3 separate regions of the Homo sapiens genome follow, and regions 1 and 3 are each linked to region 2. Evidence: promoter capture Hi-C in human tissues and cell types (Jung and others, 2019). All regions are on one chromosome and are shown on one strand. Each heading gives the region's core, a stretch centred on a gene start or on the middle of the fragment in contact. The rest is flanking DNA. Distances are from core to core; before and after follow the strand shown. Region 1 overlaps USP22 (ubiquitin specific peptidase 22). Region 2 holds the start of DHRS7B (dehydrogenase/reductase 7B). Region 3 has its middle 13 kb from the start of USP22.

Evidence for each region. The method cuts DNA at HindIII sites, captures the fragments that hold promoters and counts their contacts. A contact is called where the count stands out against the background at its distance.
Region 1: a contact is called between a fragment that was not itself captured here and the fragment with the promoter of DHRS7B in region 2, in 2 of the 25 tissues and cell types used here (IMR-90 fibroblasts and heart right ventricle).
Region 3: a fragment that was not itself captured here is called in contact with the fragment with the promoter of DHRS7B in region 2 in 2 of the 25 tissues and cell types used here (dorsolateral prefrontal cortex and lymphoblastoid cells).

The regions. Positions count from the first base shown.
Region 1 is chr17:21,012,238-21,016,592 of GRCh38, reverse strand. USP22 (ubiquitin specific peptidase 22) reads left to right here. Exons shown (of 13, transcript NM_015276.2): 6 at 694-841; 7 at 3,658-3,763. Among named protein-coding and RNA genes, the nearest start is that of USP22, 29 kb to the left of the region's middle. The HindIII fragment of the contact is 7,119 bases long and covers 1-4,355 here.
Region 2 is chr17:21,124,763-21,129,101 of GRCh38, reverse strand. DHRS7B (dehydrogenase/reductase 7B) reads right to left here and starts at 2,138. Exons shown (of 7, transcript NM_015510.5): 1 at 2,111-2,138. The coding sequence starts at 2,130. RefSeq lists an enhancer at 1,817-2,476. The HindIII fragment of the contact is 17,830 bases long and covers 1-4,339 here.
Region 3 is chr17:21,054,058-21,058,907 of GRCh38, reverse strand. No RefSeq gene overlaps it. Among named protein-coding and RNA genes, the nearest start is that of USP22, 13 kb to the right of the region's middle. The HindIII fragment of the contact is 4,660 bases long and covers 1-4,651 here.

The DNA of each region.
Region 1 (4,355 bases), core at 700-3,199, 110 kb after region 2:
TGAGTTGGGTTCCATTATGTAGATGGGTTATGGTTTAGTTGTCTGTTTCCCAGTTCAGACACATTTGGGTGGTCTGTGGTTTTGGGTTTTTTGATGAGAAATAAAACTGCCCTGAATTCTGTATTTGCACAGGCAAGACCCCTCTGTGGGTTCTGACCTGGGGAGGAAGCCGTGGGATGGAAGGTGTGCTGCTGGGTCTGCGGCTGGAGTTGAGCTGTTGGAGAGGACTGGCTGGCAAGCCCTCAGCTAATTGCCATTAGCCTCAGAGGCAGAGAATCCTGTGGCTGATGCTGGTGAATTCTGCATAATCACAGTGATGTGCTTCCCTTTGCGGAGGTGCTGGTGTCCATGGGCCTGAGTGGTTTGGCTAGTGCTTTGAGGAAACTAGTATTGGGCAAATCGAGTCACTTTTATTTGCATGTGATCTCATAGTAGCAAGTCATAATTCATTTTTTAGGCTTATATGTGGAAAACTAGATGGTAGAAAGGAAAAAATTCATATGAGGACTCGAAAAGTCCAGTGAGCCCAGATAAAAATAGACTTTGCAAAAAGTAGAAAAGTAAAATCCAAACATTTGTGTCAAATGAGCCACAGCCAATGGTAGGCATCTGATAAAGGTTTTGATTGTGTGTACTCTGTGTTCAGAGTCTACATTTATTCCTGACAAGGTTTCCTTCCCCGCCCTCTGGCAGTTTTACTCTGGACACCGGTCCCCTCACATCCCGTATAAGTTGCTGCACCTGGTGTGGACCCACGCGAGGCACCTAGCAGGCTACGAGCAGCAGGACGCCCACGAGTTCCTCATCGCGGCCCTGGACGTGCTCCACCGACACTGCAAAGGTGGGCCCTGGGCTCTGCACCCTCCACCAGGGCAGGATGTTTTCCTTGAAGGGGAAGGAAGCAAAGCGAGTGTATGCACTCGTGCAAAAAGGGGCACAGGTGACACATTCCATTGTTTTGTCATCATAGCCCTTGTCGTCATTTGTTTCTGAAGTCACCATAACTAATGACCTCAGAGAGGCTCCTCCTAGTTTATTTTTAAGAGGCGAGGAAGTAGTTCCAGCAGTATGACAGGTCCTCAGTGACCGATCACAGTGAACAGCAAACTCTTGGAGCCCTCTTGGGCCTGTGCTTTGAGGCCCCTGCCTGCCCTGGCATTTCTGGGACCCTGTGGGTTATCAGGCCTGAGGCTTCTGGACATCCCCCAAACACAACTTAATCACCCAACTGTCTCCTTCCCATTGGGGACTCTCCAAAAGGACTGATGGTTGCTCTGAAATAGCCAGAGAGCTGGGACACAGGACGAGCAAAGCTTCTCTTGGGGTCTCATTGGACCTGGGCCATCTCCCCCAACATAGTCCCACAGCCTGGCCCCAGGGTGGTACCCTGATGATTTTTCAGAGTTGTGTGGTGTTGGTAGTTGGCAGGGGCAGCTCTTAGCGCTGGAGGTGGGAGGCTGGGAATGAATGACTTGAGCCAAGATCGGCTCCTCCCCACTCCTCATGGTGGAGATCCCAGTGTGAGGGACCTGCAGCTGAAGTCTATCCATACAGGCAGAGAGACTGAGAGGTGATTCTCAGATGAGTGTGGGCTGGTCACTTGCAGGTCTTCCTAAAGCCCGTGCTGGCGTTTCTGATTCAGCAGATCTGTGGGGGGCAGGGGCTTCTTCACTCTTAATCAGTTCCCAGCTGATGTTGATGCCGCTGGTTCAGATGCCATACTCTGAGAACCCATGCGCTCAGGTCACAGGGCACCTGGCTGCTTGTGAGTTTCCTGTGGTCTCTGGGCTGGCACAGCTAGTTGTAGCCGATATCCTATCAGTTAATTTTAACTTGGAGTCTTTTAGAGAACAGAGTCCTGTTCTGACGGTTCACCGAGTTGAACAGCTTGGTGGGCTGGCCTTCCCATCGCTTCTCATCCGTCTCAAGGCTGTGCACCCGGGCCCTAGGCGCTTACGTACAACCTATGGGTTCTGAGATCACAGCCCAGAAACAACCCACAGTTGAGCTAAAATGGCTGGTTTTGGTCAAATGTGACTTTGGGTTCTGTTTTCTTTTGGTACTTACTTTTTTTCCTCTGAAAAACTACGTGATCCTTTTAATTCTTACCTAGAAATCAAAGGAAAGTTACTTAGTAGCTTAGGTAGAATTTCATGTCCTAGTATGATTTATAAGAGAGGAAAGAGCCACTGTGGAAGTGACTATGCTGTTACCCCAAGCACCTAGTGAGAATAACGAAGAGCCTTCTGTAAGCAGCAGAAAGATGTTCTAAAAATCACTTGTTCAAAAATGCATTGCTGTTAAATGTTCACATGACAAAATGTGACCTCTGACGTGCTTCTGACAGAATTCCCTTGGAAATGTCTGAAAAGAAATGTAAGGTTCTTCTGTTTAGAAACCTGGTTGCCAGAGCTGTTCAGCGAGGTGGCCTGGCCACATGGCCTTGGTTACGTGCATTTTGTCCTTGTGGCCTTCACGGCATCTTTCTGTTCATCTTTTGTTTTGTTTTGTTTTGTTTTTGAGTCAGAGTCTCGCTCTGTCGCCAGGCTGGAGTGCAGTGGTGCGATCTCAGCTCACTGCAACCTCCGCCTCCCAGGTTCAAGTGATTCTTCTGCCTCAGCCTCCTGAGTAGCTGGGACTACAGGCGCCCGCCACCATGCCCAGCTAATTTTTTGTATTTTTAGTAGAGACGGGGTTTCACCGTGTTAGCCAGGATGGTCTCGGTCTCCTAACCTCGTGATCCGCCCGCCTTGGCCTCCCAAAGTGCTGGGATTACAGGCGTGAGCCACCGCGCCTGGCCATTCTGTTCATCATTCTTTGCGCCTTCCTGTATGGATATTCTTGTCCTCTGAATTTTGTCCCATGAATTTGAGATCCCTCTGGGAAGCATTTTTCTCTCTAATCTTAAACCTTCTGCTCTCAGAAGACTTAGTGGCCCTTCTCTATTCCTCTGTCATGATTCAACGTCTTTGAACTGTGATGTATATACAGGTGTCCTCGTGCCCTGTCCCCACTGTCTAGTGAAGTTATGTAGAATATGTATTCCACACACGAATTAAGTTCTGCTACTTAAGTTTCTTTTTCACAGATCTGCACACATGGATATGAATGAAGTGTGTATTGAATAGAGAGGGTGGGAGTGGCACTTCCAGATGCAACTGACTGGAAGACACGCTGTCCCCTGGGGGCTCTAGCTGATGAGGACAGCCTGTGTCCTGCGGTGTCACTTTCTGAACTTGGGGCACCATGATACCTACTCAGGGAGGGAGGTTGCTGGGGCTTCCCCGGGTGTACCTGGCCCACCATATGTTCAGCTGTCTCACTGGAACAATATTGATTCAGTCATTCTTTATATGATAATGGGAATCGATTATTCTGCTCAGTCACTGGGCATTAGGTGGGTTTTCTTGGCAAGACTGAAGCTGTGGGGCTCTTGTTAGGGAATGAGAAAAAGGAGCATTGAAAATCCAAGTGCTGTGATTTCTCGTCATATTAAAATAACAAGGACACCCTCTGCTAAAATGAGGAGTGTCCTCACATGGCCTTTTAAAGCGTTGGCCCTGGCTCCCCCAGGCTTCTGCAGGGTGAACTGCTCTTCCCTTAGAGACTCCCCATATTTGGGGAGACACTAATCCCAGAGCCGTGGTCTGTCTCCAGGTGATGACAATGGGAAGAAGGCCAACAACCCCAACCACTGCAACTGCATCATAGACCAGATCTTCACAGGCGGGTTGCAGTCAGACGTCACCTGCCAAGTCTGCCAGTAAGTGAGAGGCTGCGTGCTCGGCAATATCAAACCCTCTGGGGCCGTACTGACATCCTCCCAGTCTCCAGAGCTGTGTGTGCTCTGAGAGGTCTTTAAGGAGGCTATGAGATAAATGATTAATAGACGCCATGAGAGCGAAGGTTGTGGGGTGGGGGTGCTTCCTCTTGGGGAGGTCGTAGGGCAGGTGTCCCCTCGGGATGCGAGCCCTTCGTGTTGAGGTCTTGGCTGTTGTCTACAGCCAGCAGTGTGTTCTTGGAAGCTTCCCCTACCATTTTGCATCTTACAGTCCTTGACCAGGGACCAAGTGAAAGAGCCCTCTTCAAGAAGGCGTGGATCATGCATGGTGGATTGTTTTTCTACGTGCTTCGAAGTGTGTTAGTTTTCATTATTTTATGGTTTCTGGTTCCATTTTCTGATGTAGTGGCCCTAATTCTTCTCAGATGTGGTCTCTGCTTAGAGCCTCAAGTGTTGAGTGCAGGGAGAATCCATTGCTTTGTTAGGTCAGGGGACCCTCTCACCCAACCTCAGTGCATGCTACAGGTTTTTTGTTTTTGTTTTTGTTTTTTTCAGGCATGGGGTCTTGTGTATG
Region 2 (4,339 bases), core at 889-3,388:
TTATCTGTTTTGATCATCATTGTATCCACAACACCCAGCACAATGCTGGTACACTGTAAACGTTCAATAAGTATCTGAAGGAATGAATGAAATTTGTAGCTAAGCGCTAGGTTCTGGAGTGACATGGCATTGGATCGGCCTTTACTAGCTCTATGCCTTTGTTGTTGTTTGTTGTTGTTGTTGTTGTTGTTTGAGACAGGGTGTCACTTTTTTTTTTTTTTTTTTTTTAAGACGGAGTCTCCTCGCTCTTGTCGCCCAGGCTGGAATGCAGTGGCGGCATCTCGGCTCACTGCAACCTCTGCCTCCCAGGTTCAAGCGATTCTCCTGCCAAAGCCTCCCGAGTAGCTGGGATTACAGGCGCCCACCACCACGCCCGGCTAATTTTTGTTTGTTTGTTTGTTTTGAGACAGAGTCTCACTATGTCGCCCAGGCTGGAGTGCAGCGGCGGGATCTCGGCTCACTGCAAGCTCCGCCATCCGGAGCACGCCATTCTCCTGCCTCAGCCTCCCTAGTAGCTGGGACTACAGACGCCCGCCACCAAGCCCAGCCAATTTTTTTGAATTTTTTTAGTAGAGACGGGGTTTCACCGTGTTAGCCAGGATGGTCTCGAGGTCCTGACCTCGTGATCCGCCCGCCTTGGCCTCCCAAAGTGCTGGAAATACAGGCGTGAGCCACCGCGCCCAGCCAATTTTTGTATTTTTTAGTAGAGACGGGGTTTCACCACGTTGGCCAGGCTGGTCTCGAACTCCTGACCTCAGGTGATCCGCCCGCCTCAGCCTCCTAAAGTGCTGGGATTACATGTGTGAGCCACTGCGCCCAGCCAAGACAGGGTCTCACTTTGTCACCCAGACTTGAATGCAATGGCGTGATCTCGGCTCACTGCAGCCTGTCTCCCAGGTTCAAGCAATCCACTTGCCTCAGCCCCAACAAATAGCTGGGACTACAGGCGTGTGCTACCTTGCCTGGCTAATAGCTCTATGCCTTTGGATAAACTTCTTAACATCTCTAAGCCCATTTCTCCCTCCATAAATAAAAATTATAGTTCCTATGATTAGGGTTATTACAGGATTGAATAATTCAGTAAAGGGATTAGTACAGTGCCTGTAACATAGCAAACACTCAAAAAATATCAACTATTATTAAGGAATGGAGAAAAGGGGACATGTACATGGTAGGGAAGGCATATTCCACACCCTTGGCAAAGGCACAAACATAGCTTCCATTATGCAAACACACCGTTGCAATCGGCAACAGTGTAAGCAAGAATTCTGCTTACTAAATGTATGAGTGTGTGAAACCCAAACGTTACTTCAAAAGTAACTTCACGATTCTCCAATCACTACATGGAAGGTTTGGAAACTGAAAAAAAGAGCATTATGTGGCTACCATTTGTTGAATACCTACTATGTGCCAGACACCAGCTGAGCACCTTGCACGCGCAGTCTCATTTACGCTTCACAACAACCTTATGAGTGGGCTTGTTACTCCCAAAGTTACAGCTGAAGAAACACTCAGAGTTTAAAACATTTGCCCAAAGCCGCACAGCCAGGAAGCCGCAGAGTAAGTATTGGAAGAGCAAGATATCTCAACCAGCCATTCCCGTGGACGCTCGAGTCAGCACCCTCCTCCTGCCTTCTGAAAAACCGGACTTCCTTTGCTAGTCCTAACTCGCCGTCACTGGCTAAGGTGCCACTGGCCCCCAGCGCTCAACCCTCGGTCCTGCCACTCGCAGACGCTGCGGAGCCTCCCCTACGTCGCGCAGAAATGTGGGAATAAACAGGTTGAAGCCAGGAGCCCTGTGGGCGCGAGGCCTTTCACACACAGCGCCCGGCGCGACACCCATTCCCAGCAGCGGAAACTGGACTCAAGACACCTCGGCGACAGGCGGGTTTCCCCGCCACGCACTCGCCGGAGCCAGGGCTCTGGTCCCAGCGCCTGGGCTGAGTCTTCCTTCAGAGTTCGGCGTCGCGGGGATCCGGAAGCCGCCCAGGGCCCGCGGCCTTAGCTCGACCACTACACCGCTTCCCCTCACCCAAGCCGGGGCGTCGCCTCAGCTCAAGGCCAGACCCTATCGCCTCATCTCGGAGGTTCCTTCTTCCCCAGCCCCTACCTGGTAGCCGGAGAGACCATAGTCAATCAACTTCATCCTCCCGCCTCGGAAGTGACGTGTACGCAGCCGGCGAGGCTCCGTCCAATCCCAGCATTGAGGCTGCGCATGCGCGTTGGGTGGGCGTCCCTCAAGGTGTACACAGGACCCGATGGACCCGAGATCTGATAGGGTCCACCCGCATAACTACAGTGCCTTCATCTTCCGGAGGGAAATTCCGAAGGTCGTGGTTGGTGTTCCGTGGACTTCCGGCGAAGAACACAGTTGGAGAATTCACGATACAGTTATCAAGATGATTATAATGCCACAGTAATCAGAACAGTGTGATAACTGGCACAAAGGTAAAAACAATGAATGAAAAAGAGAGAGACCAGAAACAGACCTGCAGCTATGTAGTCACTTTTTCCTCCTACAAGTAGCCACTGTAATGCAATAAGAAGAGTTTTTTCAATATATAGTGCTAGGTCAATTGAAGGTCGATTGGGGGGAAATGAACCTTGACTCCTATCTCAAGTAAAATAATTCTAGACGGATGGTAGACCTGAATGTGAACAATACAACTCTAGACAATAAAATCGCAGAATATTATGACCATAAGAGAGGAAAATAACGTGTTAGCAGAACACAAAAAGTGCCAGTCCTAAAGGAAAAAGCTGATAAATTGGGTGTCTGTAACTATAAGACACCGAAAAGACCCCATTGAGAAAAGGGAAAGACAATAGAACAGACAAGATATTTGTAATACATATATCTGAAAATGAATTTTATTCAGAATATGTACGTACTTCTTGCAAGTAAATTTTTTAAAGGACCCGAAGTGATTTAAAAAAAAAAAAAAAGCATGAAAAGAGGATATTGAGAGAGTAAAGGGCAGAGGAAGGAAGGGGCAGGGCAGAGGAAGGAAGGGGCGGGGGGACTCTTATCGTTCAAAATCATAAGATGGCAAATGTGTGTAAGGTGGAAAATCTCCCTTTCTGTTCTCCAGGACCCACTTCACCTCCCCCTAGGTAACGATGCTATTAGCTATGTGTGTCCTTCCAGAGCCAGTTTATTCATAACCAAGCAATTATGTATGTATTCAGCACCCCCTTGTTACACAAACAATAGCATTCTGAAACGTCCTTCTGTTTCTTGCTTTTATTAACTTTAGCGAATTAATATATCCTGGAAATTCTTACAGATATTCACAAAATCTGAAAATGGGAAATTTTATTTTTAACTAAATATTTATTTTTGACGTTTTCACAAAAGTTTTTATACCTTTCTGGCCCCTCTCCATTGTTCTGGAAACTCTAGATTCCTGCTTGCCAATTCACAAAGTTTGAATATCCTTGTAGCAAACCCAATATGAACCGTAAGGCAGAAAAATAGGGTCTGGAGACAGGGAACCTAAGGCCAATTCACGCTGACTTCCTAGAACTAAATCAAAAGGAAAACCCGAACTTTCCATGCCCAGGTAACAAAAGGAACAGAAGCTAGTCCCTTTGCAACCTGCCCCGCTTTTCTGCCTGGCAGATGAAAAATTGAAGGTACCTCTGATTGGTCCCCTCTTGCAACCAATCAGGCTGATCACAGGCCACTACTTCTTTTACATAGAGTGTACACCAAGTAACCAACGGGAACCCTCTAGAGGGTATTTAAACTCCAGAAAATTCTGTAACCGGGCTCTTGAGCCACCTGCTAGGCAGGCTCCCAACCTGTGGAGTGTGCTTTTGTTTTCAATAAATCTCTGCTTTTGTTGCATCATTCTTTCCTTGCTTTGTTTGTGCGTTTTGTCCAATTGTTTGTTCAAAACGCCAAGAACCTGGACACTCTCCACTGGTAACACCTGAGTCTTTATTGCATGACTAAGTCAGTTTCCTGGGGTTCATTTCCCAGGCCTGCTACCCTCTTAGCCTACCCACTCTTCAATCCTGCATGGAATTTGTTTTAGAAGCAACTCAATATATTTCAAAGTTTTGGTAACCAATTTGAATTGCATCTGCCAAATGCAAGTGTAAAAACTCTAACTTCGCAGCCAGGATATTATACAAAAAGGATTCCAGTGGGCCGGGTGCAGTGGCTCACACCTGTAATCCAGCATTTTGGAAGGCTGAGGCAGGCGGATCACCTGAGGTCGGGAGTTTGAGATCAGCCTGGCCAACATGGGGAAACCCCATCTACTAAAAATACAAAAAAATCAGCCAGGCATGGTGTCGTTTACCTGTAGTCCCAGCTACTCAGGAGGCTGAG
Region 3 (4,850 bases), core at 1,072-3,571, 70 kb after region 2:
ATATCATGTCTAAGCAATGTCTGCTTTAGTAGAAATGAGGTCTGGGGGCCACCTCTCTGCTGTGTTTGACTGGCATGTGGCTTAGGGCTTGCCTCTCGGTACCCTGGTCCACCAGGTTCTTGGCAACTGCAGAGAACATGCATCTCCTCACTTTTGCCTCCCTCCCTGGGGGCCTGGAGAGCCCTATCCTGACTGCATGACTCACAGCTCCTTCAGCTTCTGTCTGCAGCTCCCCTTGTGGGAAAAAGACAGCCAGAGGTATATAATTTTAAAACAAGACTTTGTTGCTGCATTGCAAGAAGGAAGAAAGAGAATGCTCACTGGGCAGTCTGGGACTGTTTGACCCCCCAAGTTCTTTAACACATCAAAATGACAAACTTTCTTTTACATCTGAATATACGCAAGATATCTACCAGAAATCACTTTGGGATCTGCAGGGAAGAGAGGGCCCTGTGCACACAAAGAAATTTCAGGCCAGGCACAATGGCTCAACTTGAGTCCTGGTGTTTGAATAGCATGGGCAACACAGCAAGGTCTCGTCTCTCAAAAAACAACAAAAAAAAGCCAGGTGTGGTGGCTGTGGTTTGTGGTTCAAGCTACTCAGGAGGCTGAGGCAAGAGGATCACTTGAGCCCAGGAGGTAGAGGCTGCAGTGAGCTGTGATTGCGCCACTGCACTCCAGCTTTGGTGAAAGAATGAGATCTTGTCTCAAAAATAAATAAACAAATAATAAAGAAATTTCACAAGGCTGTCACAATTGACACGAAACCAAATGCAATGTGAGAGCCTTGGTTGGATTTTGAATGGAAACTAATAACAGCTATAGGAGACCCTTTGGTACAATTAGGGGGAAATCTGAATATGGATTATGAAATGCATTGTATATGAGGCAATGCGTATAGGGGAATGTATTGTATTGAAGTTAAATTTCCAGTATATGATCATTGCACCATGGTTTTGCAGAAGAAACTAGTTCTTCTAGCTTGTCTGCAAGTAACTCAAAGTGTGTCTGTAAGTAACTCAAACACAAAATTTAAATTAAAAATATACGTGGAGAGATAAGGTAAAGTGGTAAGAAAACTGGATTAAAAACGTATCGCTAACTAGAGAATCTAGATGAAGTGTCTATGGGTGCTCACTGCATAATTCTTATGACTTCTCTTTAGGTTAGAAAATAGTCAAAAATAAAGTAGAATTGGGGAGTTTGGTTAGAAGCTTATATGTGTAGGGTCTCCCAGTTTCTCCCACTTTCTTTCTGAGACACAGAGAGCACCTTGGCCACTCTGTGATCTGGCTGGCTGCATGCTTCCGCTGTGGGCTGGAACCTGAGCTGGGGCCCTGAACATTCCCAGGCACTGATAAACTTGCTTATGTTGTTGTCCAAAACACTTCAAGATCAAACATCTTGCTAAACATGTAGCAACTGACACCTTCCCCACGCCCCTCTCCAAGGGCTCCTCTCCGGGGGGCACCCATTTCCCTGAAGGCCACCTGAGGCCTGTGACAGCCCTATGTATGTAAGCGCCCTAATGCATGCTTTGCACTGGTCACCCTGGCGTTTGGTGCTTCTTTCTTTGGAATCCCATCCAGGGCTGGTCTGGGGTACCAGACCAGGGAACAAGGGAACAGGGGAACAAGGGTACCAGACAAGGGAACATCCTTGCCGCAACCCTAGCTGTGGGTTCAGCTGAGAGGATGCAATTTCTGACAAGATGACCATAAGTTGGTCACCCTTTCAGTTGGGTGGCTGGTGCTTATTTGAGGCTTCAGTGTGATATTCATTCTAACATTCCATAGAACAGTTTTTTAAAGGCTGAACATCTGGGCTGGGCACGGTGGCTCATGCCTGTAATCCCAGCACTTTGGGAGGCCGAGGTGGGCGGATCACGAGGTCAGGAGATCGAGACCATCCTGGCTAACACGGTGAAACCCCATCTCTACTAAATATACAAAAAATTAGCCAGGCGTGGTGGCGGGTGCCTGTAGTCCCAGCTACTCGGGAGGCTGAGGCAGGAGATTGGCGTGAACCCGGGAGGCGGAGCTTGCAGTGAGCCAAGATCGCGCCACTGCACTCCAGCTTGGGCGACAGAGCAAGACTCCGTCTCAAAAAAAAAAAAAAAAAAAGGCTGCACATCTGAAAAGAGATCTAAACGTGCATTTTTATAATAAGGGGGCTCTCCTTCAGCATCAGTTCAAAAGTTCAAAGGGGAGGGTGTTACTGAATGTCTCTACAGGAGTCACATGAGTTATTCACGGGAATAACACATTAGGGAACATTTTTGAGGTTTTTTTTTTTTTTTTTGGAGATGGTATTTCACTCTGTCACACAGGCTGGAGTGCAGTGGCGCGATCTCGGCTCACTACAGCCTCTGCCCTCTGGGTTCAAGCAATTCTCCTGCCTCAGCCTCCCAAGTAGCTGGGATTACAAGCACACGCCACCATGCCTGGCTAATTTTTTTGTATTTTTAGTAGAGGTGGGATTTCACTGTGTTGTCCAGGCTGGTCTCGACCTCCTGAGCTCAGGCAATCCACCTGCCTCAGTCTCCCAAAGTGCTAGGATTACAGGTGTGAGCCACCGTGCCCGGCCACATTTTTGAGTTTTAAACTTTTAGAAAACATGATGTAAAGTTCTGTGATGACAGAGGGGCAATTTTTCTCTTTGTTCTCTACTCTGTGGATGTAAAAATCCATTCCTGTATATTTGTTAGGCTATAAATGTACCATTTCCAGGACGGTAATACAACCTAACAGGGACAAACCTGTAGTCCCAAAACAATGGATTTCTTAGCATCCTTGCAGCAAGAGTGATCACTTACCTGAGGAACCTGGTGTCCTCTTCAAACAAAGGTAGAGGAAGGGTTTGTTTGTTTGTTTGTTTGTTTGTTTTTTGAGACGGAGTCTAGCTCTGTCTCCCAGGCTGGAGTGCAGTGGTGCGATCTCTGCTCACTGCAAGCTTCGCCTCCTGGGCTCACGCCATTCTGCCTCAGCCTCCCGAGTAGCTGGGACTACAGGCGCCCGCCACCATTCCCGGCTAATTTTTTGTATTTTAGTAGAGGGGTTTCACCGTGTTAGCCAGGATGGTCTCGATCTCCTGACCTCATGATCCACCCGCCTCAGCCTTCCAAAGTGCTGGGATTACAGGCATGAGCCACTGCGCCTGGCCACATAGAGGCAGGGTTCTTACAGGATCTGGAGGAGGGTGGAGGTTAGGTACAATATAAATGAATCAGTGTTGTGGATAGGCGTGAAGCAAGCAGGATTATGTGTGTAAAGCTATAAAGGGGTTAACATCAGAAGCCGACCCAGGGTCCTGTTCCCTTAGAAACTACAAAGTTAAAATAAATGTAGGATGTTGTGCTTAAAAAGCTCCTTTGTTTGTTTGTTTGTTTGTTTGTTTGTTTTTGAGACCGAGTCTTGCTCTGTTGCCCAGGCTGGAGTGCAGTGGTGCCATCTCAGCTCACTACCAGCTCTGCCTCCTGGGTTCCCACCATTCTCCTGCCTCAGCCTCCTGAGTAGCTGGGACTACAGGCGCCCGCCACCACACCCGGCTAATTTTTTGTATTTTTAGTAGAGAAGGGGTTTCACCGTGTTAGCCGGAATGGTCTTGATCTCCTGACCTCGTGATCCGCCCACGTCAGCCTCCCAAAGTTAAAAAGCTCTTTTCTAAAAAAAAAAAAAAAAAAAAAAAAAGAAAGAAAGAAGAGAAAAATCCTGTTTCAGCTGGAAATTGAGGCTGCTTCTTTGTGTCAAAGAATGTTCCAGTCTCACTAACATGGTTTCAAACAGCAAAGTTTCTGACAGTCCGTGATTTTACAGAACAAGGTTCTCTAAAATCTATAGTTTACATTTTCTATAGGTTGACAATCACAGAGGAGGACTGTGGCTAAGAGACACTCCTGCAGGTCATCACGGTGAGACGGGGAAGGAGGACTCCCAGGTGGACAGGATAAGATAAAGATGGTTCTGAAGCTGTAGGTGGCACTGTGCCCAGGGCATTTTGGGATCCAGTTCAAGCTGTGGTCCTAGGGTCATCCTCACACCTCCCTTCACAGTGTGGCCCTCACTCCTTCAGTCTGGATGCCTCCGGGTACCCTGTTTACCCTTCAAGGCTCTCAATCTTAAGTGGTGTCTGTGTTGATAGACAAGCCAGGCTCTCCCATGGTGATGGCAGTCTTGGTGAGGTTGTATGGGGTGTCCATGAGTGGGTGATTCTCATAATGAGCTGCACGAACCCCCATATGGTGAGGTTGCACTGTATGGTGAAGGGGGGTCCAGGGATTTTCACAGCTGGCCTATGTGGTGGAAAGCAGTCACTGTCCTCTGGATTTCCAACGGGAAAGGATGTGTTGCTGTGGGATCCAGGGTTGGCCTGGCAGGCCCTTAGTAACGTGAAAAGAAATTGGACTAGAAGAGAGGTTTTGTTTTGTTTTGAGCTAGAGTCTCACTCTGTCGCCCAGGCTGGAGTGCAGTGGTGAGATCTCGGCTCACTGCAGCCTCTGCCTCCTGAGTTCAAGCGATTCTCCCACCTCAGCCTCCCGAGTAGTTGGGACTACAGGTGCCCGCCACCACACCCAGCTAATTTTTTTGTAGAGACAGGGTTTCACCAGGTTGGCCAGGCTGGTCTTGAACTCTTGACCTCAAGTGATCCGCCATCCTCGGCTTCCCAAAGTGCTGGGATTACAGGCGTGAGCCAACGCACCCAGCCAGAAGAGAGGTTTTGAAGGATCACCCAGAACCTGCATGGAAAGCCCCACAGCCTCCCTGCAGAGGACTGCCTGGGATCCAAAGCCAAAGTCGGTGACTTTGCTTTACATCTTCACCTGACAACTGGAAGGACCCAGGCCGTTTGCA